Regions from separate parts of the Homo sapiens genome. Here regions 1, 2 and 3 are each linked to region 4. The links are contacts of gene promoters, found by promoter capture Hi-C in blood cells and fetal thymus (Javierre and others, 2016). All regions are on one chromosome and are shown on one strand. Each heading gives the region's core, a stretch centred on a gene start or on the middle of the fragment in contact. The rest is flanking DNA. Distances are from core to core; before and after follow the strand shown. Region 1 overlaps ZNF384 (zinc finger protein 384). Region 2 overlaps CHD4 (chromodomain helicase DNA binding protein 4). Region 3 overlaps C1S (complement C1s). Region 4 holds the start of GNB3 (G protein subunit beta 3).

Region 1 (5,558 bases), core at 1,350-3,849, 170 kb before region 4:
AGCAAGGTTTTTTTTTTTTTGTTTTTTTTTTTTTTTCCAGACAGAATCTCGCTCTGTGGCCCAGGCTGGAGTGCAGTGGTGCAATCCCGGCTCACTGCAACCTCCGCCTCCCAGGTTCAAGTCATTCTTCTGCCTCAGCCTGCAGCTGGGACTACAGGCGCGTGCCACCACACCTGGCTAATTTTTGTATTTTTATTTTACTTTTTTGAGAGAGAGTCTCACTCTGTCGCCCAGGCTGGAGTGCCATGGCACGATCTTGGCTCACTGCAACCTCTGCCTCCTAGGTTCAAAAGATTCTCCTGCCTCAGCCTCCTGAGTAGCTGGGATTGCAGGCGCCCACCACTATGCCTAGCTTATTTTTTGTATTTTCAGTAGAGACGGGGTTTCACCATACTGGCCAGGCTGGTCTCGAGCTCCTAACCTCATGATTCACCTGTCTCGGCCTCCCAAAGTGCTGGGATTACAGGCGTGAGCCACCGTGCACGGCCATCAATTTTTGTATTTTTAGTAGAGATGGGGTTTCACCATGTTGGCCAGGCTGGTCTTGAACTCCTGACGTCAAGTAGTCTGCCTGCCTCGCCCTCCCAAAATGCTGGGATTACAGGCGTGAGCCACCGCACCCAGCCTTAAAGCAAGTTACTTAATTCTCAAAAAAGGTATCTTCAGAGTTATCTAGTCCAATCCCTTCACTAACAGTTGAAGAAGCACCCTGGCCAACACTGGTTGATGGTAGGCAAAGGGCTGAAGTCCAGGTTTCATGACCACATTCTACTCCATAGTACTACAGCTCTCCTGCATAAATCAATCTTGCACCCCTTAACCGGTTATGATTTCCACAAGGTAACAAATACACATATGTATACACATTGCCAACTGCAAGCCCCTCTTCCACAGACTCAGGCAGGAGTGTAGGTCCTTTCAAGAGGCTTCCATTTTTCTTCCATAGGGAGCTTAGCTGTTTTGTTAACACATAACCAAAGCCTTGCTCTCACATATTTAGGCAATGCAATCCCCATGACAGAATGTGTATGTAGAAGTCCTCATAAACCAGGATTTCACTGGAGACATCATGAAACTGTACCCTTCCATGACTGGAGAATTGCACAAATGGGGCATCATCACACAAGCACTTGTTCATCACACACACACTCTGGTATAAATCCTCAGTACTGTTCTTGGACATCTCCCCAAATACCTTTTCCGCATGCTCGCTCACATCAGTAGCTCCACTGCCTCTGATCCTTTTACATGAATTTATTTCTATACAATGTTCTAAAAACACCCCTTGGTTTGTACATAAGTTTTTTTCTTTTTTTCTTCATTTTTAAATTACTTTATAACAACTGGTTTCCTGATTTTTTTTTTAATTTCCTTTCCTCTGAAATCTGCCATGATTTAAAAAAAAAAAAAAAAGACAAAAAGAAAAATGCTGTGGCTAGAGGACAGGGGTGGAGAGAGGGAAAAAAAGGACAAAAATAAACAAAACATCAAATATGAAAATTCTCAGAGATAATGCATTTATAAACACAGAAATGGTTACAACAAAGATGGCCGTGATGAGTGAGTATAATATATTTATATATATATATTTATATATAAATCCGTGTCCGGCATCTGACTGTGGCACCTAGGGAGCTAAGTCCAGTCCTTGCGTTTGCCTTGAACTCTCCCTTCTCCGCAACACCCCTGTTTTGGAGTTTCACAGATAACACAAAGCCTCCCACAGCTCCTTGGGGGTGGGTTGGGGAGACTGAGAGTATAGGGTCTTTGTAGGCAGAGAAGGAGAGAGGCTTCAAGGAAATCCGTAAAACCATAACACACACTTCTAAGCCACCTGTGACCAACTTGGGAATTTCTGGCCCCTTGGGGACCACATCTCAGCCCTTGCCCCCTTCAAATAAAAGGAGGTCTAGCCCCTACCCCAAATCTCCTTCTACCAGCAGTCAATAGGAAGCAAAGTGAGACGATGTAGGGGAAGAAATGGCTCTCAGGGACTGAGGCATTTGAGAAACCTCTGTTCTTTTGCAGGCAAGAATAGAACAAGAGGCTGGTTGCATTTGGGGCTCCCTTTTCTCTGTTATCTGGGAGGGCCAGCCTCTAGTCTTACATCAGCCCAAACTTTGAGGATAAGGAGGGTAAGGATAGGGTAAGTGGCCACACTGGACAAGGTTCTATGAGGTCATAGCAAATCCTTCCCTTGAGCACCGACCCCCAGTTTTAGAAGCTTTGCTTGGGAGGGGAGGCTGCTGGATGACACCATCAGCTCAGTATTCCTTTGCAATCAGGAGGGCTGATGTTCCTTTTGAAGAAGAGTTCAGAAAAAGGATGGTATCCTGTGAAGGAAAGCCGTGACAGAGGCCCAAGGAGATGGAGCCAAGGCCTGTCAAGGAAGAAAAGGACTTTTCCCACCAAGAGTTGGAGAAAGAAGACACCAGGACTACTTCTTCCTCTTCCCAGTGGGTGGCAGCACGGATCTCTAAGAGCTGGCCAGGTGCTCCACCTGGATGGTGCTGGTGGTGACAGTGAGGCAGATGTCCTTATGATGCTCCGCCGTCTTATACGGGGTCAGGTCAAAGGAACACTGGGGTGGAGGGTTGGGATTGCTGTCCCCACCACCCCCACCCTGGGGGGCTGCCCCAGGAGACTGGAAGTGTGGTGGTGGCTGTTGCTGCTGCTGCTGCTGCTGCTGCTGCTGCTGCTGCTGCTGCTGTGATGCCTGGGAGGCCTGGGCCTGGGCCTGGGCTTGAGCCTGAGCCTGAGCCTGGGCTTGAGCTTGAGCCTGGGCCTGGGCCACTGCTGCCGCTGCTGCTGCTGCCTGCACCTGTTGCTGAAGATCAGGCGGGTTGTGTTTGCGCATATGTTTCATAAGGTATGTTTCCTGAGGGAGATGGTAAAAAGAAGTTGAGGGATAAAGAGGAAGGAAAAGAGATTACTTGTAACTAGCACCCCAGGCTCTGATTCTGCTGTAAGCAGAGTAAGCTTTATACTGGTTTTCTGGAGCCAAGACTGAGCAAAACTCAAGTAGCACTTTCAGTGGCTCACTACTGAGAAAAAAAAGAGAGGAACCTTTAGAAGTCACTCAACATTCAACTGGCAAAGGAATGAGCTGCTATTTTTTTCAAAGACCCCTGAATGAAACAACTTTACAACCTTTTCTGGAGTCTCATGGAAAATATCTAACTGGGCCAGGTGCGGTGGCTCACACCTGTAATCCCAGTACTTTGGGAGGCTGAGGTAGGTGGATCACTTGAGGTCAGGAGTTTGAGACCAGCCTGGGCAACATGGTGAAACCCCATGTCTACTAAAAATACAAAAAGTTGCTGGGCATGGCAACATGCACCTGTAATCCCACCTACTTGGGAGGCTGAGGCAGGAGAATCGCTTGAACCCAGGAGGTGGAGGTTACAGTGAGCCGAGCCGAGATCACACCACTGCACTCCAGCCTGGGTGACAGGGCGAGACTGTGTCTCAAAAAGAAAAAAAAAAAAAAAAGAAGAAGAAAATGCCTAACTGAAATCCAGCTCCCCTCAAAATTTCAAGTGGCTTTATTTTGCCTTATGTTTAAGTAAAATGAAGAATTACAGCTTATGCGTCTCTATAGGATTAGGAGATCAGGCATCCCCTAAATTCCTCAGAATGGGTCTAATTAATTTCTGAATATTTACCTGTTCTGCTAAGTTGGAGCTAGGGAGGCAGGGTATTCACTGCAACAGATCTCTACCCAGAAAATGGGGTGAAGTGGACTGTACTCTTAGAGGACTATGAGGAAGGAGAGAAGAAACGGAGCACTCACTGATGTGTATGCCCGACTGCAGATAGTGCAGGTGTACACCTTGGCATGCTTCACTGTGTGCGTAGACAGGTGCACCTCTAGTGAGGCTGCATCCGTGTACGCCCGATGACAGTTGTGGCACTTGAAGGGTTTATCTTTGTTGTGTTGCCGTCTGTGGGACTGAGAAAATTGGGAGAAACCAGAATGAATACATTGTACTCTTTCCTCCTGCCCCCTTGACCTCGATGGAAAGCAAAAAGGTAGGTGTCAGGCCTCCCAGCTTCTCCCTCTATCTGAAGAAAGTAGAAATTGTTTCAAATGAAACTTGAGAAGCTACAGGCTAAGGGTGGAAGCATACCTCATGTAGCACATACCAGGATCCCAAGACAGCTTATGCCCGTCTCACCAGTCCAGTGGTTCTTAAAATGAGGCATGGGGATCTTTAGGGAACACTAAGACCTTCACAGGGGGCCCACAGGGTCAAAACTCTTTTTTTTTTTTTTTCCCAGATGAAGTCTCTCACTCTGTCGCTCAGGTTGGAGTGCAGCGGCACAATCTCGGCTCATTGCAACCTCCGCTTCCCGGGTTCAAGCGATTCTCCTGCCTCAGCCTGCAAGTAGCTGGGACTACAGGCACATGCCACCAGGCCTGGCTAATTTTTTTTGTATTTTTAGTAGAGACAAGGTTTCACCGTGTTGGCCAGGCTGGTTTCCAACTCCTGAGCTCAGGTGATCCGCCCGCCTCCGCCGCCCAAAGTGCTGAGATTACAGGTGTGAGCCACCGCGCCCAGCCAAATCTTTTCAAAATAATAAGACAATGTTTGCCTTTGTCTCTCTTGAACCTGGGAAGTTGCAGTAAGCTGAAATCACACCACTGCACTCCAGCCTAGGTGACCCAGCGAGCCTCTGTCTCAAACACGCACACGCGCGCGCGCACACACACACACACACACAAACACAAAGATGAAAAACCTAACTGAAATCTTGTTCCCCTCAAAATTTCAAGTGGCTTCATTGTGCCTTATGTTTTACATGTAACCCTTACAGAGGTTACATGATGTGTGATAACACAATAGGCCAGATGCAGCAGATCTGAGAATCTACTCATCTTCTAGCTTAAGACATTAAAGACCCCTGTGCCAGGTGCGGTGACTCATGCTTGCAATCCTAGCACTTTGGGGAGGCTGAGGCGGGAGGATGGCCTGTGTCCAGGAGTTCGAGACCAGCCTAGGGAAGATAGCAAGACCCCATCTCTACGAAAATGAAAAAAACAGCCAGGTGTGATGGTGCATGCCTAGAATCCCAGCTACTTGGGAGGCTGAGGTGGAAGGATCACTTGAGACCGGGAGGCTGAGGCTGCAGTGGGCCATGATAACACCACTGCACTCAGCCTGGGTGACAGAGCAAGGTCCTGTCCCAAAAATAAAAAATAGACACCTGCAAAAATGTATAATAATGCCATTCTTCTCACTCAGTTGTTTTTGGAGGGTCTTGGAATATGTTATTTATGTTAACACACAATGGGTTTATTTTTGTTCTTTCTAAACAGATTACTATTATAAATATTTTTCAGGTTTTTCAGTTTTACAACGTCTATGTAGACAGCTATTACCCACATAAACAAAAACTCTTTGGGTCCCTCAATAATGTTTGAGTGTAAAGGAGTCCTGAAAACATTTGAGAACCACGATACTATTCAAATGGCCCCATGTCTCAGACTCAAGGTCTTGTGTGGAGGGTGGAACATTTACCTGCAGATTGGAGAGTTGTGTGAAGGCTTTCTCACA
Region 2 (5,776 bases), core at 67-2,566, 240 kb before region 4:
ATCCAGGCAGACCATGTGGTAAGCACGGGGACAGGTATCACACAGGATGATCTCACCGCCTTGCTGGCACACCTCGCAATAGTCCTGGTGGTCTGTCTCATAACCATCCACAGCAGTCACCTCCTCCTCGCCTGGGCAAGGAAGAGGGAAAGCCCAGTTATTGGAAAAAAACTACCTCCCCCCACCCCCCGACCCCTATCTCCTTAGGGAGATTCTTCCCCAATCACTCCCACCTCATCCCATCACAAATATACAGAAGAGAAACACACCTTTCTTTTTCTTTTTAGTGGTTCGGAGTTTCTTGCGGCTGCGGCTACTACGGCTGGTGGAACCATCAGAAACAGAATAGCTATTGATACTGGCATCATCGAAGTCAGATTCCACATCTAAGTCATCATCCTCACTCTGGCAGGATGAAAAAGAATAAGGTTAGACGTTCAAGCCAAGGGGAAGGACAGAGTGGCAGAGAGGGGAGTACTCTCTCACTGGGGACACCAGAATCCCAGCAAGCACCGTTATACAGGGAGCCTAGTCTCATCTTGTTCTGTGGGAAACGCCCCACATTCTTACGTGCCTACTATGAAGGACAGGTTCTGATAGAAGGTCACATCCTTTCTATTAGACATGGCACCCTCCCTAAAGCGATGGGCTGGGCTCTCACCGAGGATCTCTTACGCTTGGAACCAAAACCTCCCAGCTTGATTTTCAGGGGAGCTACTTTCTTGGGTTTAGGCTTCTTGGCATCAGGTACACGAGGGCTGCCCTTGGGCTTCCTCCGAGCATTGGGACCTAAAATCAGGATATATCCAAATATATACCACAAGACCAAAGATGGGGAAAATAAAATCTTCTCCACCTAAGCTTGCTTCCCCACATTCAGATTCCCAAATTTCCCTCCAAAATCCAAGACTCATTCCTCCCTCCTATCTCCTACCTTAGGGCTGACAGACCAGCATTCCCATGCTGTCTTTGACATCTTAAGCCCACACTAGACACCCCCACTCCCATTTGAACCCCATTTCACCTTTGCCCTCCTTGGTCTTGGCCTTGCGGATAGGCACCTCCACAGGGGGAGGTGGTGGTGCAACCTCAGTGGCTGTCACCATGCTCTCCACCACAGCTACCGCTGCTGCTGCCGCAGCTGCCACTGATGCCCCAGAACTGCCTTTGAAGGGGTTATTGGTACTGAACTCCCGCCATTTTGCACCCAAAACCATCATCATCTTGGAGACAGCAATCTTGGGATTTTTGGCAGCAATGAGGGGTCTGGTGGAGAAATGCACAAGAGCAGAGGGAAAGGTTTAAGAATAAAAAAAGAAAGAGAAGTAAGAAGAGAGAACAGAAAGATTCTCCTCCCCCTTCCCCAAACCCCTTCTGTTTTACCTGACAAACTGGCTGAAGGCCTTGTAGTTGGTGAGGGTTCGATAATCCTCCTCTGAGAACACGTGGTCAATGTCTTCCATGCCCCAGTCTTCCAGGAGCTGAGCAGATGATTTAGGCTCCTGCAGAAAGAGCAAAGTCAAGTAAGTACCTGCCACCTAGTGCCCACACTTGCTAAGCAAATTTGTGTGGAAAAATCAGAGTAACAGAGTTAAGAGGAAAAGAAGAGAAAGTGTTCTAAAGGGCAGTAAGGTGTCTAGGAAACAAAAAGACAAAAGTTTAACAGTACAAAGAAGAGGATGGAGGTCCAGGCACCTTTGAATCATCATCATCATCCTCCTCCTCCTCCTCCTCCTTCCGCTTGGATTTGCTCTTCTTCTCTTTCTTAGGTCCAAGCTTCTTCTTCTTCTTCTTGCCAGGAGTATAGTCGCTGCCCTCACTGTCTGAGCGCAGAGCCACCTCTTCCTCCTCCTCCACAAACTCTGGCCCCTCCCCAGAGCTGTCCCCCAGCTGCCGGCATAAGAGCATACGCTGGAGCAGGGCAAGGGGGGAAGAGGGAGACAGACACACACATGCTACACACATGCTGACCTCAGGACAGCCCTGAGGCTCATCCCCAGAACATGGCCCACCACTTCTGAGAAAGAAACAAATGCCCTCAGCCCTTCAACCCTTCTCAGAGCTCCTCCCTTCTTCCTCTGATTCCCCGTAACATTCAGTCACCCACTCACCTCCTTTTTTTGGCGCTTGCTCTTAGGGATTTTAGGGTCCCGAGGTTTCTTAGGCTTTTTCTTCTTCTTGAGCTTTGGAGTCTCTGTTTCTGACAAATCCTCTTCTGGGTCCTCTTCATTTTCTACATATATTTGGCAAAGAGTGGTAGGCAGGGAAAAGATCAATAGCAAAAGGTTAGGCCCTAATCCAGAGGCTTTAGACTTTATTCCCCACCTCTTGTCCCAGATTCCTCTGAAGAGAACTGCTATACTCTGTACAGGAGGAAGCTGATACCCAGGACAAAAACAGACAAAGAGAGAGCTGTATATACCCGAAATAGGCCTGCCAGGCCAGACCAGGCCCACCTCGGGCAGCTGTCCAGACCCCTGCCTCCTCTCTCCCGTTCCTACCAGTCCTCTAGATGTTCACCAGTACAGCTGAACTGAGCTGCTCAGAGTTCACCAAGTAAGAGAACTAGATTTAGGCCTCCTGTAACTGGCCACCAAGTTATTCTATAAACCAGGGAATGAGAATGAAAGATCCTACTCAGAAGGCAAAAACTATAGAATATACCTTCCCAGAACAGGATCAGTTCAGGGGTCTCGGAAACCACACCCTTCTCTAACCACTTTGAAGTCATCACTGCTCAAATTAACCAGAACCTCCAAGTCCTAGGTTCAGGTGCCAGCTCAATCTCATGCCCACTTCTAAAATACAATTTCCTTTCCCCATCTCCAACCCTAATGTTCCTCCTCAGCTTCTCCTGGGTCAGCAGCCTCTTCTCCCTAGGGGCCCGAATCAGCCCAGCTGTCACCATCTCCCCTACACCCGCCCCCCAGCAAGCCTCCTCCCATCTGGCTCCACCTCCTCCCCTGGCTGGAGGCACACACAAAGCCTGGGTAAGACTGAAAGCTCCTGGGCAAGGATAGGTGGGAAGGGACACAGAGAAGACCAGGAGGCAGCTTCCTTTGTAACAGACATTCACACTGGCTCCGACTCCCTCCTCCCTCCTCTCTCCCTCTTCCCAAGCCACCCCCGCCCAAAGGGGGGTGGGTAGAGAAAGGAGTGGAGAGAAGAAGGGAGTGCCTCACCCACTGAGGAGAGGGAAAATGGCTCCTGACCGCAGAAGCCAGCCCAGGGCACCCAGCTGCCAACATAGGACAGACAGGAAGTGGCAGGGGAGGGGGTGGGTTTGAGAGAGGTGGGGTGGCGGGGGGGGAGACTGCCCTCATAGAAGCCTCCCCAAATTACCTGGCCCCAGGTCCAAATGCCACCTACTCTGGGATGACAACAGTTCACAAGAGCCCACCCTAACATCCTAAGCAAGGAAACCCAAGGAAAGCGAGACAAACATGAAGGTAATACTAAGAGAAGAACTCGATCACTCCCTCAATCATAATTATTTTTTCAATCATCAGAGCTGAGATTTAACAAAGGCTCAGTGGACTTGTGGTCAGCGCATACAACCTTCTCCCCAAATTTCTGATACCCAAAAGATTTAGTTTGAGGAATGGAGGCCCACAAGAAGTCTCTGAAGCTCAGCTTCCTCACCACTCCCACCCAGATTCCTATCCAACATATGGGAATGTCTGCACAAAAAAACAGAGCAGGACCTAGACAGTGGTAGAAGAGAATATCCCAATCGGGTGCAATGGCTCATGCCTGTAATCGCAGCACTCTGGGAGGCTGAGGCGGGCAGATCATTTGAGGTCAGTTCGAAACCAGCTTGGCCAACATGGTGAAACCCTGTCTCTACTAAAAAAACAAAAATTAGCCAGGCATGGTGGTGGGTGCCTGTAATCCCAGCTACTCAGGAGGCTGAGGCAGGAGAATCGCTTGAGCCCGGGAGGCGGAGGTTGCAGTGAGCCAAGATCGCACACTGCACTCCAACCTTGGCGACAGAGTGAGACCCCATCTCAAAAATAAAAAAGAAAATAATATCCCTCCTTCAATCCCTGACATGTTCTTAGCTCTTAACCCCCAAAATTAGCCCTAAAATGTCTCTGGCTCCCCACTTCCTGAGCTAGACAGATACTAGGGAATGAGACATTAGGCTGGACAAAGCACCATCAGCCTCCCTGCTTCTCAGCCCAGAATAAGACCAGGCACAAGAACGCCCCTCCCATTCCCCCTTGGGAATGCAACATCAGCCTGGATTTCACCAGAAAGAATCATTTTCTTAAGGACTTTTCCCCACCAATCCCCAAGTCAACCCCCAACCCCCATCAGCTACATCTCACCACCCCCATAAAAGCTGGAAGTGGAGACAAAGACAACCCATGGAGGCAAAGGGGACATCCTTCCATGCACATGGAGCCCCCCAAACTTCTCAGGCAAATAATATGCTGAAATGGCAAACCGCAAACTTACTGAGATATAGAGAAGATTTAGGAAAGGGACAGGAATGGGGTGTGGCAAGTGGAAAAAGTGGGTCATGCTACAGCTCAGGACAGAGTTCACAGCTCCTGCGCAGCTCCCGGTCAACATGAAAGGCAGCCCCAGCCCAAGTGGCCAATGGGAGGCCAAGACGTGGAACCCAGAATGTTTAGGCAGCACTACTGTTTCTCATGCCCCTCTCAGAAGGACAGGGTCCCCTTACCAGCACCACAACTCCGCCCTCACCTTGGGCAAGGGCATGGAAATCTGCCCCCTACTCTACACAAGGATGAAACCAAGTTTCTCATCCCAACAGCCCAGACTCCATGACAACACTAACCCCTCTCCTAAATGGCCTCAGGTTGAAGTGAAGAATTCCAACTTAAAAAGTGCCAAATGTGAAAGCATCTCTCCCAGACCACCTCAACTTCCACTGAAGCTAAGAAGAGAGAAGGCAGAAGTGAATGATGCTGGATGAGAAACAAAAACAGGATCAGCAGGCTCCAGAATGAGAAGAAAACTAGAAGCAGAAGGAATGAAGAAATGACATGTAGAAAAAAAAATTAAACTAGAAAACATGAAGGTCAAGGAGATGAGTAGGTGACACAGCTAGGGGCTCTGAAAAAGGACACAGAAGAGAAAGACATCTGCTTAGGGGCATGACATCAACCATCATTTGAGGATAGACAACAGTTCCCCCAATCAGACAGGGTGGTTACAACCATACGGGTTTGGCCAGTTCATGAAGCCACCCCAAAACACAGATAGCGTAACCCCTAGCACACCTACACAGACACTTCACACTGCCAGCCTAAACCGCAGGCTACCTCATAGAGACAGAAGCCACTAGGAAAAAAGCCAAAACTATGTCCACTCACCAGGAGGAGGAGTGCCCTCCCTTCTTTTGCCCCTCTTCACTAGGCTATTACATCCTCCCCGAGCCCCCATCACTTCCCCACTCAAAACATTCCAGCAATCTGCCTGGCTGCTTTAAGCACTCCAGATCCTGCTGAGGAGCGCGATTCAAACTTCACACAGTTCAGACAGCACAGAAAACCGGTAACCGATCAGAAGCTAAAAATAATCAGATAGAGTGTAACCAGCACTCCCTCTTTCCTTTCCACAGCAGCAACCACAGGATCCTACTAGCACAGATGCCCGGCTGGTCTTTCAAACAGAATCCTCAACGCCCCCCTCCACCACCACCACCACAAGCCTCCAGGGGTCCCAGCTACCTGCATTCCTCCGAGGACCCACATACCAGGTAATGCCTGCCAGCCCAGAGAGCTCCCTCAACTGGGAACTGCAG
Region 3 (5,955 bases), core at 118-2,617, 230 kb after region 4:
CATTTAATGCCTCTTTTATTTGTATCTCCCACTTCCCAATTTTACCTCTTCCCTTTAGTTCTTTCCCTCTTCTGATTTCATCATTTTGTTCAGTTTGTTGCAGGAGATCGGCAATTTGGTCCTTACTGTGGTCATGGATTCCCTGGGCCTCTAAATATTGAAACCAAGAGTAATGCTCTTGATATCATCTTCCAAACTGATCTAACAGGGCAAAAAAAGGGCTGGAAACTTCGCTATCATGGAGATCGTGAGTAACTTAGAAGTGCCTCTTTGGTTGGTGATACCAAAGTCCCCAAACAATGTGGGATCAAAGCAGGTAGATGATCCAGGCACACTGGAAGCACCTGTGATCTCAGCTACCGAGGGAGGCTGAGGCAGGAGGATCCCTTGAGCCCAGGAAGTAGGAGTTTGAGTCCACTCTGGGCAACAGAGCAAAACCTTGTCTCTAAAACAAAACAAAAACAAAGCAACAATAATTTAAAAAACAGATAGATTGTTGTTCTGATAGAATCCTGAGATACTTCACTTCTTCAGGAAAATCTAAACCAGTCAACGGTTGCTAGAAATGCCTCAACCTCTAGTAATCCTTTAACTAGACCTGAGACTGCAGACAGCTTGCGGGTGGTTAGTTGGTAATGCCATATGATTTTAGACATCTGCTGTATTGGAATGTTAAGCATCAGGATTGAGGACAACTGGACGATTTTAGAAAGTGTGAGAATGATGTAAATAGAATGAGAGTCTTCAACTATTTAGTAATTTTTTCCTCCTGTCCCAACTTCTGTTCTTTCAAGCAATGCCCTGCCCTAAGGAAGACACTCCCAATTCTGTTTGGGAGCCTGCGAAGGCAAAATATGTCTTTAGAGATGTGGTGCAGATAACCTGTCTGGATGGGTTTGAAGTTGTGGAGGTAAAGTACCACCTTGGCTTCTCCCCAGTCCCTGGCCCCAGATCAGGATGAGCGGACTGAAATTGTCCAGTTGTTTACCCAATGTATGTGTGTGATCAAGGTATAACACCTTTCCCATAAACACAACAGCTTAAGATCTGTAGTTCTCCCTTGTGAGTCATGGAGCTGCCTGGCCAGCTTGGCATTCTCTCTGCCTTCAGTCTTCTTGAGGAAGGGGAGTTGACACGTTGGGGCAAAGCTTTCTGTCAGCCTCATCTCCTGGGTGCTTTAGGTCTGCTAAGATGTTCCCAAGCTTCTTGTGGTGAGGACTCCTCATTGATCCAAGGCCAGAGATCAATTCCAGTTTTGATTTTGGTTTCCCATATCTCTCTTCAGAAATAAGTGGTGATGTTTATTATTCTCCAGGGACGTGTTGGTGCAACATCTTTCTATTCGACTTGTCAAAGCAATGGAAAGTGGAGTAATTCCAAACTGAAATGTCAACGTATGTGTCTCTTCAAAGTGGAAGTCTTTCTTTTTCTCTCAGAGAGAATGGAAAGATCAGCACATCAAAATTCAAATGCATGGTTTCCTCTTAGGCATGTGAGGGAGTGGGTTGGGTTTTTGAAGGGAAGCCAGTCATGGAAGCTTTTCTAGTCCCAGCCCCGCATCTGGTCCCAGGCCAACTAGATCGGCATGTTTCTTTCCAAGAAAGGGGCTATGGGATAGGTCGAGTTAGTAGCCCCACGTGGGTGCATTTGTGGCTTCCACTGGGCCTTCACCAACCACTGAGAACCAGGCTCTTCACTACGGCTTTCATGGGGCCATCTGAATTGGCATCTCAGCGGGTGAGAGAGCTGAGAGATGCCAGTTGGGGAGGATGGCCACAGAGAGGCTGGTGTGGGGAGGTTCATCCCAGGTGTGCCTGTGGATATGGGGTGGGGAAGCAGTGAGGATGAACCTGGCCCCATGACTCTTCCTTGGAGGAAGTGGCTGTCCTGACCATCGCTCTCCTTCCTTCGTCTGGTAGCTGTGGACTGTGGCATTCCTGAATCCATTGAGAATGGTAAAGTTGAAGACCCAGAGAGCACTTTGTTTGGTTCTGTCATCCGCTACACTTGTGAGGAGCCATATTACTACATGGAAAATGGAGGAGGTGGTAGGTTTCTTCTACTGGAGAAGAGAGAGAGAGAGTGAGAAGGTGTTGGAGGGTGGATAGCATAATCTGTGCCAGAGACAGAGTTTGGAGACAAATGAAGGCGATAGGACAGACATTGTTCATCCCCTTGGCTTCGTCCAAAGATACAGTTTTCATCTGGAGCAGGGCAAGTTCAGGGGAGCATCAGCCTCAGGGAATCATAGAGGTCACCAACTGAGTTCACAGCTGCAGCAGGAATTCCCCTACAACATCCATTTCATGGGATTACCCACCTTTTGACCAGTTATTTCATGTAAAACCCACAGGAGCAATGCCTTCAGCTTTAAGCCACCAAACTACACTGACTGGCTTTCTTGATGTAGAGGCTTTGGTCATGCTAGGTGCAGGGCTGAATGAGACCCTAATACGTTCTCTGCATTGCTCTGTATTTATTTCGCCACTTTCCCGATGCCTTCTTTCCTTCTGCTTTGGAGATGTTCCCTTTGTCTCCCTGGCAGGCTAGAGGCCTGAGGGATTGTTTGGAGGAAGATATTTTTTTTCTGGCTGATTTAATCTGATTTACTACTTGAATCCTAGACGAGCTGAGGTTCTGAAGGAACGGGGCAGGGTGTTGGGGTCGGAGGGGGGAATGGAAGAAGGAAGATGTGGTGGTGAGTGTGGCCTGTGTTCTCTGTGCTATTCCAGGGGAGTATCACTGTGCTGGTAACGGGAGCTGGGTGAATGAGGTGCTGGGCCCGGAGCTGCCGAAATGTGTTCCAGGTAAGGAGGGCTGAGGCTTGGGGAGAGATGATAGCCATGGGTGACTGGGAGTCACCTTCTGAAAGCAACTGTAATCCTCTTGGGAAAGGACTGAACAGTGACCTGCCAGAGTCCAGCTCAGTGAGGTGGCAGTATCACTGTGCCGTGGGCTGCCAGGGCCGTGGGGAACCTCCTCAGCCGCACTGAAGCCAGGCCAACTGGAAGGAAATAGAAACGTCAGCCAGCGACAGTTGGTGTCTGGTAATGTAGCTGCAGTGAGAAGATACAGAACTGCTAAAAACAGGGCCTGAAAGCTGAGAGTGTGTGAGTAATCAACACTCAGAAACAAGTCTAGCTAAATAGCCTAGTTATTATATTAAAAGTTTATAGGGCAGCAAGATATAGAGGAATTCAAAGAATGAGGAAGATAAGAGTTGGGTAGCAGAAGGCTGAGGCAAATCCAATAGGATAATAACCATCCTGGGTGGTACTGAAAGCTGAAGACTGAGCTGATTTGTTGCATTTATTATCTCATTCGTGTCCGTATAACAGCCCTGTGAGCTAGGTGTCATTGGTCTTATCTGACCAATGTCAAATGTGAATGGGTGGGGTGCAAGTTCACAGAGTTAGCAAGTGGCAAAGGCAGGCTTTGAGCCCAGGTCTGTCTAAGTTCACAGCCCATTGTGCTCAACTTGGAGTCCCTCCAGGCTGTCTAGTAAGGGATTTAAGTAAGCAGCTTCACTTGAATTCAGTTATTAGTATAACTGAATGGTAATGGCACCAGTCACTGGGAGTGAGAGGTCAGGGCCAAAGAAGGGACCCCTCTCTACTTCCTAGGCTGACCTGTGGTTTACTAGGAGGGACTCAGGTGCAACTAGGACTCCAGTAAAGAAGGTGATTAAAGTTTGATCTGGGCATCTGAAGAAGGCAGAAATCTTTCCTCCTCCACCATCTGTGTGAGAAAAGGGTTTCCAGCACTGGCTCTTGATTGGGCACCGGCCTCATGTGCCGAGTTGGGAGGTGCAAAGGGGACCCCTGCCTCCAGGGGGGCTGTGGGTCGCACTGTGGATAGTGTGAGGCATTAGTGCATCTGGACTCAGTGATTCACACACTGCCTCCGTTTAACTGAGCTCTCCCATGAGCCAGCTTATGACATCGGCAAAGCGGGATGTTTAGGTAAGGCCAGAGTGGGTCAGGTATTGAGATTGTTGACCAAATAGGGTTGACTATTTTGTACTAGAGAATCCTGCAACCTAGCAGGTAACATTATGTGAGTGGTTGGAGGATTTGCAGGAAGCCAGCATCATTTCTTCCTCCTTCCCTGTGTTGTTTTATTCCTTCCTAGTCTGTGGAGTCCCCAGAGAACCCTTTGAAGAAAAACAGAGGATAATTGGAGGATCCGATGCAGATATTAAAAACTTCCCCTGGCAAGTCTTCTTTGACAACCCATGGGCTGGTGGAGCGCTCATTAATGAGTACTGGGTGCTGACGGCTGCTCATGTTGTGGAGGGAAACAGGGAGCCAACAATGTATGTTGGGTCCACCTCAGTGCAGACCTCACGGCTGGCAAAATCCAAGATGCTCACTCCTGAGCATGTGTTTATTCATCCGGGATGGAAGCTGCTGGAAGTCCCAGAAGGACGAACCAATTTTGATAATGACATTGCACTGGTGCGGCTGAAAGACCCAGTGAAAATGGGACCCACCGTCTCTCCCATCTGCCTACCAGGCACCTCTTCCGACTACAACCTCATGGATGGGGACCTGGGACTGATCTCAGGCTGGGGCCGAACAGAGAAGAGAGATCGTGCTGTTCGCCTCAAGGCGGCAAGGTTACCTGTAGCTCCTTTAAGAAAATGCAAAGAAGTGAAAGTGGAGAAACCCACAGCAGATGCAGAGGCCTATGTTTTCACTCCTAACATGATCTGTGCTGGAGGAGAGAAGGGCATGGATAGCTGTAAAGGGGACAGTGGTGGGGCCTTTGCTGTACAGGATCCCAATGACAAGACCAAATTCTACGCAGCTGGCCTGGTGTCCTGGGGGCCCCAGTGTGGGACCTATGGGCTCTACACACGGGTAAAGAACTATGTTGACTGGATAATGAAGACTATGCAGGAAAATAGCACCCCCCGTGAGGACTAATCCAGATACATCCCACCAGCCTCTCCAAGGGTGGTGACCAATGCATTACCTTCTGTTCCTTATGATATTCTCATTATTTCATCATGACTGAAAGAAGACACGAGCGAATGATTTAAATAGAACTTGATTGTTGAGACGCCTTGCTAGAGGTAGAGTTTGATCATAGAATTGTGCTGGTCATACATTTGTGGTCTGACTCCTTGGGGTCCTTTCCCCGGAGTACCTATTGTAGATAACACTATGGGTGGGGCACTCCTTTCTTGCACTATTCCACAGGGATACCTTAATTCTTTGTTTCCTCTTTACCTGTTCAAAATTCCATTTACTTGATCATTCTCAGTATCCACTGTCTATGTACAATAAAGGATGTTTATAAGCAAATTTTGTGTGACTTACCTCATTCCACACCAAACCCTCAGAATTATAGAAGGGGAATGGGATGAGAAGGCTGTTATGTCACTGAAATTGGGCATCCAGCAACTAATATTTAATTTAATTGTCACGAAAACAGGGAATTCAGCTTTTCTTCTCTCTTCCAAATGAGATTTACTGAATATTGTGGGTTAGTATGAAGATCGCCAGTGTAAGGCATCACATTCTGCTTTTGAAACTCATTAATATTTACCTGGCCAAAAAAAAAAAAAAAAAAAAAAGAAGAAAAGAAAAATAAGAAAAAAAAGAAGCTCATTAAATGTCATGTGGTGCGTGGCTCACACCTGTGATCCCAACACTTTGGGAGGCAGGGGTGGGAGGATTGCTTGAGCCCAGGGATTCAAGACCAGTGTGAGCAACATAGGGAGACCCTGTCTCTACAAAAATAAAAAATAAAAATTAGCTAGGCATGATGGTGCGTGCCTTAGTCCCAGCTACTCAGGAGGCTGAGTTGGGAGGATCGCTTGAGCCCAGGAGGTCAAGGTTGCAGTGATCATGCCACTGTACTCCAGCCTGGGCAACCAGAGTGAGACATTATCTGGAACAAAGCAAAATAAAAAAACCCCACCTCATTCAGAAATCCATGTACAATAGT
Region 4 (5,748 bases), core at 58-2,557:
ACTCAGAGGACAGTGCACAGGCTAGCCTGGAGCTCACCAGGCCTGGGGAGCTGGGACGGGGCCCCGCTGCCGGACCTGCAGCCCTGGACAGATGGGGAACACTGTGCCTCCCTGAACAGAAATGGCAGGGGAGGAGGCTGATGCTTTAAATGAAGAGGATGGTGGGGTTGGGAGGTATAACCCTGCTCCTCTCTCCCAGTCTGTGCAATAAAGGTCGTGAAGATCTCTCAGCCAGGGGCCAGTCAAGTGTATCACAGATTCTGTGATGGCTGGAGGTGGGGGTGGCTCTGGCTGGCCTGGGAGGAGACAGGTGTCTTTGGGCCTCCCAGAGGCGGGGCGCCTGGAGCCTGTGATTTGTCAGGGAAATCTCAGCCACCTGCTCCCCTCATGCAAATGACCCAAGCCCCTGGCAGCTGCTCCTTAGGCCTCCAAGTGTAAGCCCTGTCTTCCCTCTCTGAGCTTTGCTGAGACTTAGGGCCGCCTGCTTTCTCTCTGACCCCTGCTTTCACAGCCTCGAGAGGGCAAGGAGGGGGCCAGACCCCAGCCTGGGAGCAGCGTGCGGGCCTTCCCTCCACTTGAAATCCGTTGCCCGCCCACAATAGGGGCAGACCTGTCCATCCTTCTCTGTGGGTCCCCTGTACCTTTCTCCCCCAACAGGATCAGACCCAGAGGCAGCTGGTTGGGGTTTGTCGAGAAGAAGGATTATCCAGATCAGTCCTTTCTAATCTCAGCTCCTGCCTGTACCCTCCCATACTCACCAAACCCTCTTCCCCACCACCCTGAGCTGAGGAGCACAGTTTGAGGTACTGACAATGGGGCCATCTATCACCCTTATATCCCACCTCCTGGCCTGGTTGCTAAGTGGCCCTGACTGCCAAGATCATCACCATGGATGGGGGCCGGGACCAGGGGGGCCACTGGAGCTGTAGTTGTCTGCTCCTTTGCACCCCTCCCAAACCCCAACCCTTAATCCTCACAGCTTTGCTCTAATCCTGTGGGGCCTGATGCTCTTATCTCTGCCTGCAGAGACTGACCAGGGAAGCACCCCTTCACCCCCTCCTCTCTCAGGGCTTGTGGTGGGGGCTGCCCCTCTCTATGGCCCCACACTCCTGCCCCCAACCCTCCTCCCGGCTGGGCCCAAGTCTCTCTGGAATCCGTACACCTCCCTCCCTCCCCCCACCCCTTCCCCCCACCCCTGCCAGCTGATTTCATTTGCCTGACGTTGTGGTTGGCTCTACCCTTCCCTGTCAGGCCCCCCCAACCCCCCGCCGGTCGGGGCCAGGCCAGGCCAGGCCAGCTCCTCTGGCAGCAGAGCCTGGGCAGGTGACGGGCGGGCGCGGGCGTCGCAGCTGAGGGAGTAAGGAGGCTCCCAGGAACCGGAGCTGGAAACCCGGCCGAGGTCCAGCCAGAGCCCAAGTAAGAGGGAGCTGGCCTGGGCTCTGCTCTCCTGGGCTGGGGCGCAGGCAGGGCTCAGGCAGGCTGGGGCTGGACGCAAAGGACCTCAAACTTGGAGGGCCTAGCTGGGGAGAGGGTGCAGCCACCCAGTCGTTTCCCTGTGTCTTGGAGTCTGGTGTGGGCACGAAGGGCAGAAGCACAGCCTGGTGGGGGGTTCCTCAACACCGACCCCATGTTCCTGGCAGGAGCCAGAGTGACCCCTCGACCTGTCAGCCATGGGGGAGATGGAGCAACTGCGTCAGGAAGCGGAGCAGCTCAAGAAGCAGATTGCAGTAACTCCAGAGCCCTACCCCTGGGGCCCCAGAAAACAGCTGGGGACATGAGGAGCGTGGCCCAGGGGGAGGGGGCTGGGTTTGCTCTTGAGTGACTAGAAGTGACCAGGGACTTTCTAAACTTGGTTCGCATATTTGAGACCCCCAAGCCCCAGAGCCCCAAGACCAACCTGCCCTGAAGGCCCATGCACCTGCCACCCCCACCTCGCCCTTGCTCCCCTGATGTCTGCTTTCCCTGCAGGATGCCAGGAAAGCCTGTGCTGACGTTACTCTGGCAGAGGTAAGACCCCCTGTCCCCCGGAAGGCAGGGCATGGGGGGAGGGGAAGGGAGCTCCCCGACCCGCAATAGCGCGTTGCTCCGAGCATTAGTACAGCACGTCCTTGGAGTGAGGAAACCCATTAATTAATTCATTCGACCAACATTTTAGCGGGACCTGCTCTGAGCCAGGCACCATATTGGATGCGAAAGATGCGGACACGGTTCCTATTCTCATCCGTAGAACAAGAGTGACCACAGCCCCCTCCCAGGGCCTTGAAGATGAAGAAGCGATAGTACTTTGTAAATTATAAAGCCCTTGTAGACTCTAGCTGCTAGTTTTCTATGCTGTATTTTGTCAATTCTAAGATGCACATTTCTTCACATTTTGACATCTCTGAAATCAAGGTGCATTCAGCAATGGATCATTGTTTCAATTAGAATTGACAGCATCTTTTCTTTCTTAGTGATGCATCTTAGATTGGATTAAATATGTTAATAGTGAACACTTTTTATGAGCCAGATACTGGGCTAAGCTGCATAAATACCTGATTTCATTGAATTTTCATGATATCTCTGTAAGGTAGGTGCTATGATAAGCCTCATTTTACACCTTGAGTAAACAGACTCAGGGAGGTGAAGCAACTTGCCCAAGATAACAAAGCAGGCCGGGCGCAGTGGTTCACGCCTGTAATCCCAGCCCTTTGGGAGACTGACGTGAAAGGATCACTTGAGCTCAGGAGTTTGAGACCAGCCTGGGCAACATAGTGAGATCTCTTCTTAATATAAAAAAAATTGCTTTTAACTTTTTAAAAAAAGATAGCAATGCAAGTGATGGCAAATCAAGTCTGTTCACTCTGGACCCCCAGCCTAAGTCTAAAATGTGGTTAGAGCTCAAGGGGCATAGTACCACAGATTTCAGGAGGTACAGTTCAGGGTCATGGTGATGCCCCAGGCACCCAGTTAAAAAGCTAGCCGTGCTGCAGCGGTGGGTGCAAGCAGGCTCCTCTCGGCTTGGGAGAGCCAGCTCTGTGCATCTCTTCCCAAATCTGTTTCCAATGACCTCACATTGGCAGCTGGAAACTGGTCAAAGTGCAAGTATTCGTATCGTGGAAATCACCTTCCCACCTTCCTCACCAACACTGGAGAGGTGCTTGTTAAACACTTACAAGCAACACACCTCTGGCCATGCATGCATCTCTTTCCCACATCAGTCTAAGACACTCCAGGGCAGAGACTTATTTCTCTAAGGCTGGGGGCCTGACCTAGAGCCTGGCACAGAGCGGGAACTTGTATAGATCAGTGGCAGTGACAGACATCTGGGCACGTAACCTGCTCACCCTGATATTCAGTGCCCCTCTCTCTGCAGCTGGTGTCTGGCCTAGAGGTGGTGGGACGAGTCCAGATGCGGACGCGGCGGACGTTAAGGGGACACCTGGCCAAGATTTACGCCATGCACTGGGCCACTGATTCTAAGTGAGGCTTGGGGGGGAACCGAGAATGGGAGGGTGAGAGCGGGAGTGAGGAAGGCGGGAAGGGGAGGCTTGCATGATATGGGATGCCCTCTCCCCAGGCTGCTGGTAAGTGCCTCGCAAGATGGGAAGCTGATCGTGTGGGACAGCTACACCACCAACAAGGTACCAGCCCTGCCTCCCTGAGCCTCCACCACTGCATCCTTCCTAAGGGCGCCATGCCTACCCTCCTGTGCCCAGCTGGGAGCTTGGCTCCGGTCCCATCTCTGCTCAAACCACCCTCCCTGCAGGTGCACGCCATCCCACTGCGCTCCTCCTGGGTCATGACCTGTGCCTATGCCCCATCAGGGAACTTTGTGGCATGTGGGGGGCTGGACAACATGTGTTCCATCTACAACCTCAAATCCCGTGAGGGCAATGTCAAGGTCAGCCGGGAGCTTTCTGCTCACACAGGTGAGGGAGAGACCCTCTCCTCCCCTCCTGAGGGGTTCAGGGAACCCTGGGCTTCCAGTGGGCTGTGGCTCTGCAGCCAGGGCACTGTCCTTCTAACCGCCTCCAGGTTATCTCTCCTGCTGCCGCTTCCTGGATGACAACAATATTGTGACCAGCTCGGGGGACACCACGTGGTGAGGCTGAACATTGCTGGTGCTGGGGCTTGGGAGTGGGCCCGGCCTTTCTCTAACAGTCTCCCTCCATTTTGGCAGTGCCTTGTGGGACATTGAGACTGGGCAGCAGAAGACTGTATTTGTGGGACACACGGGTGACTGCATGAGCCTGGCTGTGTCTCCTGACTTCAATCTCTTCATTTCGGGGGCCTGTGATGCCAGTGCCAAGCTCTGGGATGTGCGAGAGGGGACCTGCCGTCAGACTTTCACTGGCCACGAGTCGGACATCAACGCCATCTGTGTGAGTGCACCCCCCACCCCAGCTTCACTCCAACTCCTTCCCCGACACTCCCCACAACACATACAATACACATCCTCTGCCCCTCCCATAGCTTCCCTAGCCCTTTCTTACTGTATTTTTTTTTTTTTTTTTTTTTTTTTTGAGACAGAGTCTCACTTTGTCGCCCAGGCTGGAGTGCAGTGGTGCAATCTTGGCTCACTGCAACCTCTGCCTCCTGGGTTGGAGCAATTCTCCTGCTTCAGCCTCCTGAGTAGCTGGGATTACAGGTGTGCGCCACCATGCCCGGCTAATTTTTGTATTTTTAGTAGAGATGGGGTTTTGCCATGTTGGCCAGGCTGGTCTTGAACTCTTGACCTGAGGTGATCCTCCCACCTCAGCTTCCCAGAGTGCAGTGCTGGGATTACAGATGTGAGCCACTGTGCCCAGTCTTCCCTAGCCCTTTCTTTCTTTCCTTTTTTTGGAGACAGAGTCTCACACTGTTGCCCAGTCTGGATGCAGTGGTGCTATCATAGCTCACCGCAGTCTCAACCTCCAGGGTTCAACCAATCCTCCCACCACAGCCTCCTGAGTAGCTGGGACTACAGATGCGTGTGACCACGCTTGGCTAATGTTTTGATTTTTGTGTAGAGATGGGTTCCCACTATGTTGCCCAGGCTGAGCTGGAACTTCTGAGCTCAAGCGATCCTCCTGCCTCAGTCTCCCAAAATATTGGGATTACAGGCATGAGCCACCACGCCTAGCCCATTTTATCACGTTTGCTTTATCATTTTTTCTCTGTAGAGAAATAGCCATAGATACACACACACATACACACTTAGATGTAGATATACATTTTCTTTCTGTGTCTTTTGAAAGTAGGTTGCAGACATCATGTTTCTTTACCCCTTAAGTACTTCCCGAAACAAAGCCCTTCTGTAGCATAATCACTGTATGATTCTTAAGATCAGGAAACTCAACATTGACACAATACTACAGTCTACAGTCTATATTCAAATTTCACCAATAGCCTCAAAAATGTCCATAATAGCTCATGTTTTTTTCTGTCCAGGATCCAATCCAGAAACGTGCATTACCTTTCCTCGCCATATCTTTTTCGTCACCACCTTTAAACTGGAACTGTTTTCCCACCTTTGTCTTTTATGTCATTGACGTTTTTGAAGAGTACAAACCAGTTTTCTGTAGACTCTCCCTCCGTTTGAGCTTATCTGACATTTGCTCGCCGTGAGATCCAGGCCTTGCATTTGTACTGGACCCTGTTCTTACACACCCTGATCCAGCCCACTTGTGTAGTCTGGGAGTCTGGGACAACCTCCGTCCGCCCTTCTAGCCGGGTCACTGCAGGCAAGCCTTGGTGCTCTTGCCTGCGACGTGGAAATGATGCCTGCCT

What was found. Contacts are between HindIII fragments. The CHiCAGO score rates a contact against its expected background, and 5 or more counts as called.
Region 1: a contact is called between a fragment that was not itself captured here and the fragment with the promoter of GNB3 in region 4, in 12 of 17 cell types (naive CD4 T cells, activated CD4 T cells, non-activated CD4 T cells and 9 more). The highest score is 14.8, in naive CD4 T cells.
Region 2: a fragment that was not itself captured here is called in contact with the fragment with the promoter of GNB3 in region 4 in 13 of 17 cell types (activated CD4 T cells, total CD4 T cells, non-activated CD4 T cells and 10 more); the score reaches 16.4 in activated CD4 T cells.
Region 3: a fragment that was not itself captured here is called in contact with the fragment with the promoter of GNB3 in region 4 in 1 of 17 cell types (activated CD4 T cells); the score reaches 7.1 in activated CD4 T cells.

The regions. Positions count from the first base shown.
Region 1 is chr12:6,665,238-6,670,795 of GRCh38, forward strand. It overlaps ZNF384 (zinc finger protein 384), which reads right to left. Exons shown (of 12, transcript NM_001385745.1): 10 at 5,523-5,558; 11 at 3,794-3,952; 12 at 1,240-2,878. The coding sequence ends at 2,477. Among named protein-coding and RNA genes, the nearest start is that of ING4, 4.9 kb to the left of the region's middle. The HindIII fragment of the contact is 755 bases long and covers 2,223-2,977 here.
Region 2 is chr12:6,600,265-6,606,040 of GRCh38, forward strand. CHD4 (chromodomain helicase DNA binding protein 4) reads right to left here. Exons shown (of 40, transcript NM_001273.5): 3 at 2,112-2,233; 4 at 1,696-1,911; 5 at 1,384-1,502; 6 at 1,025-1,266; 7 at 662-789; 8 at 270-405; 9 at 1-131. It overlaps LOC124902867 (a long non-coding RNA gene), which reads left to right and starts at 5,622. Exons shown (of 2, transcript XR_007063193.1): 1 at 5,622-5,731. RefSeq lists an enhancer at 5,686-5,776. The HindIII fragment of the contact is 915 bases long and covers 860-1,774 here.
Region 3 is chr12:7,065,724-7,071,678 of GRCh38, forward strand. C1S (complement C1s) reads left to right here. Exons shown (of 12, transcript NM_001734.5): 7 at 94-247; 8 at 795-910; 9 at 1,316-1,394; 10 at 1,920-2,048; 11 at 2,733-2,807; 12 at 4,132-5,309. The coding sequence ends at 4,928. Among named protein-coding and RNA genes, the nearest start is that of C1S, 8.0 kb to the left of the region's middle. The HindIII fragment of the contact is 335 bases long and covers 1,201-1,535 here.
Region 4 is chr12:6,839,618-6,845,365 of GRCh38, forward strand. It overlaps GNB3 (G protein subunit beta 3), which reads left to right and starts at 1,308. Exons shown (of 10, transcript NM_002075.4): 1 at 1,308-1,416; 2 at 1,641-1,727; 3 at 1,969-2,007; 4 at 3,353-3,459; 5 at 3,557-3,620; 6 at 3,746-3,908; 7 at 4,015-4,081; 8 at 4,160-4,361. The coding sequence starts at 1,671. P3H3 (prolyl 3-hydroxylase 3) reads left to right here. Exons shown (of 15, transcript NM_014262.5): 15 at 1-230. It also overlaps a transcript of CDCA3 not described here. The HindIII fragment of the contact is 12,557 bases long and covers 1-5,748 here.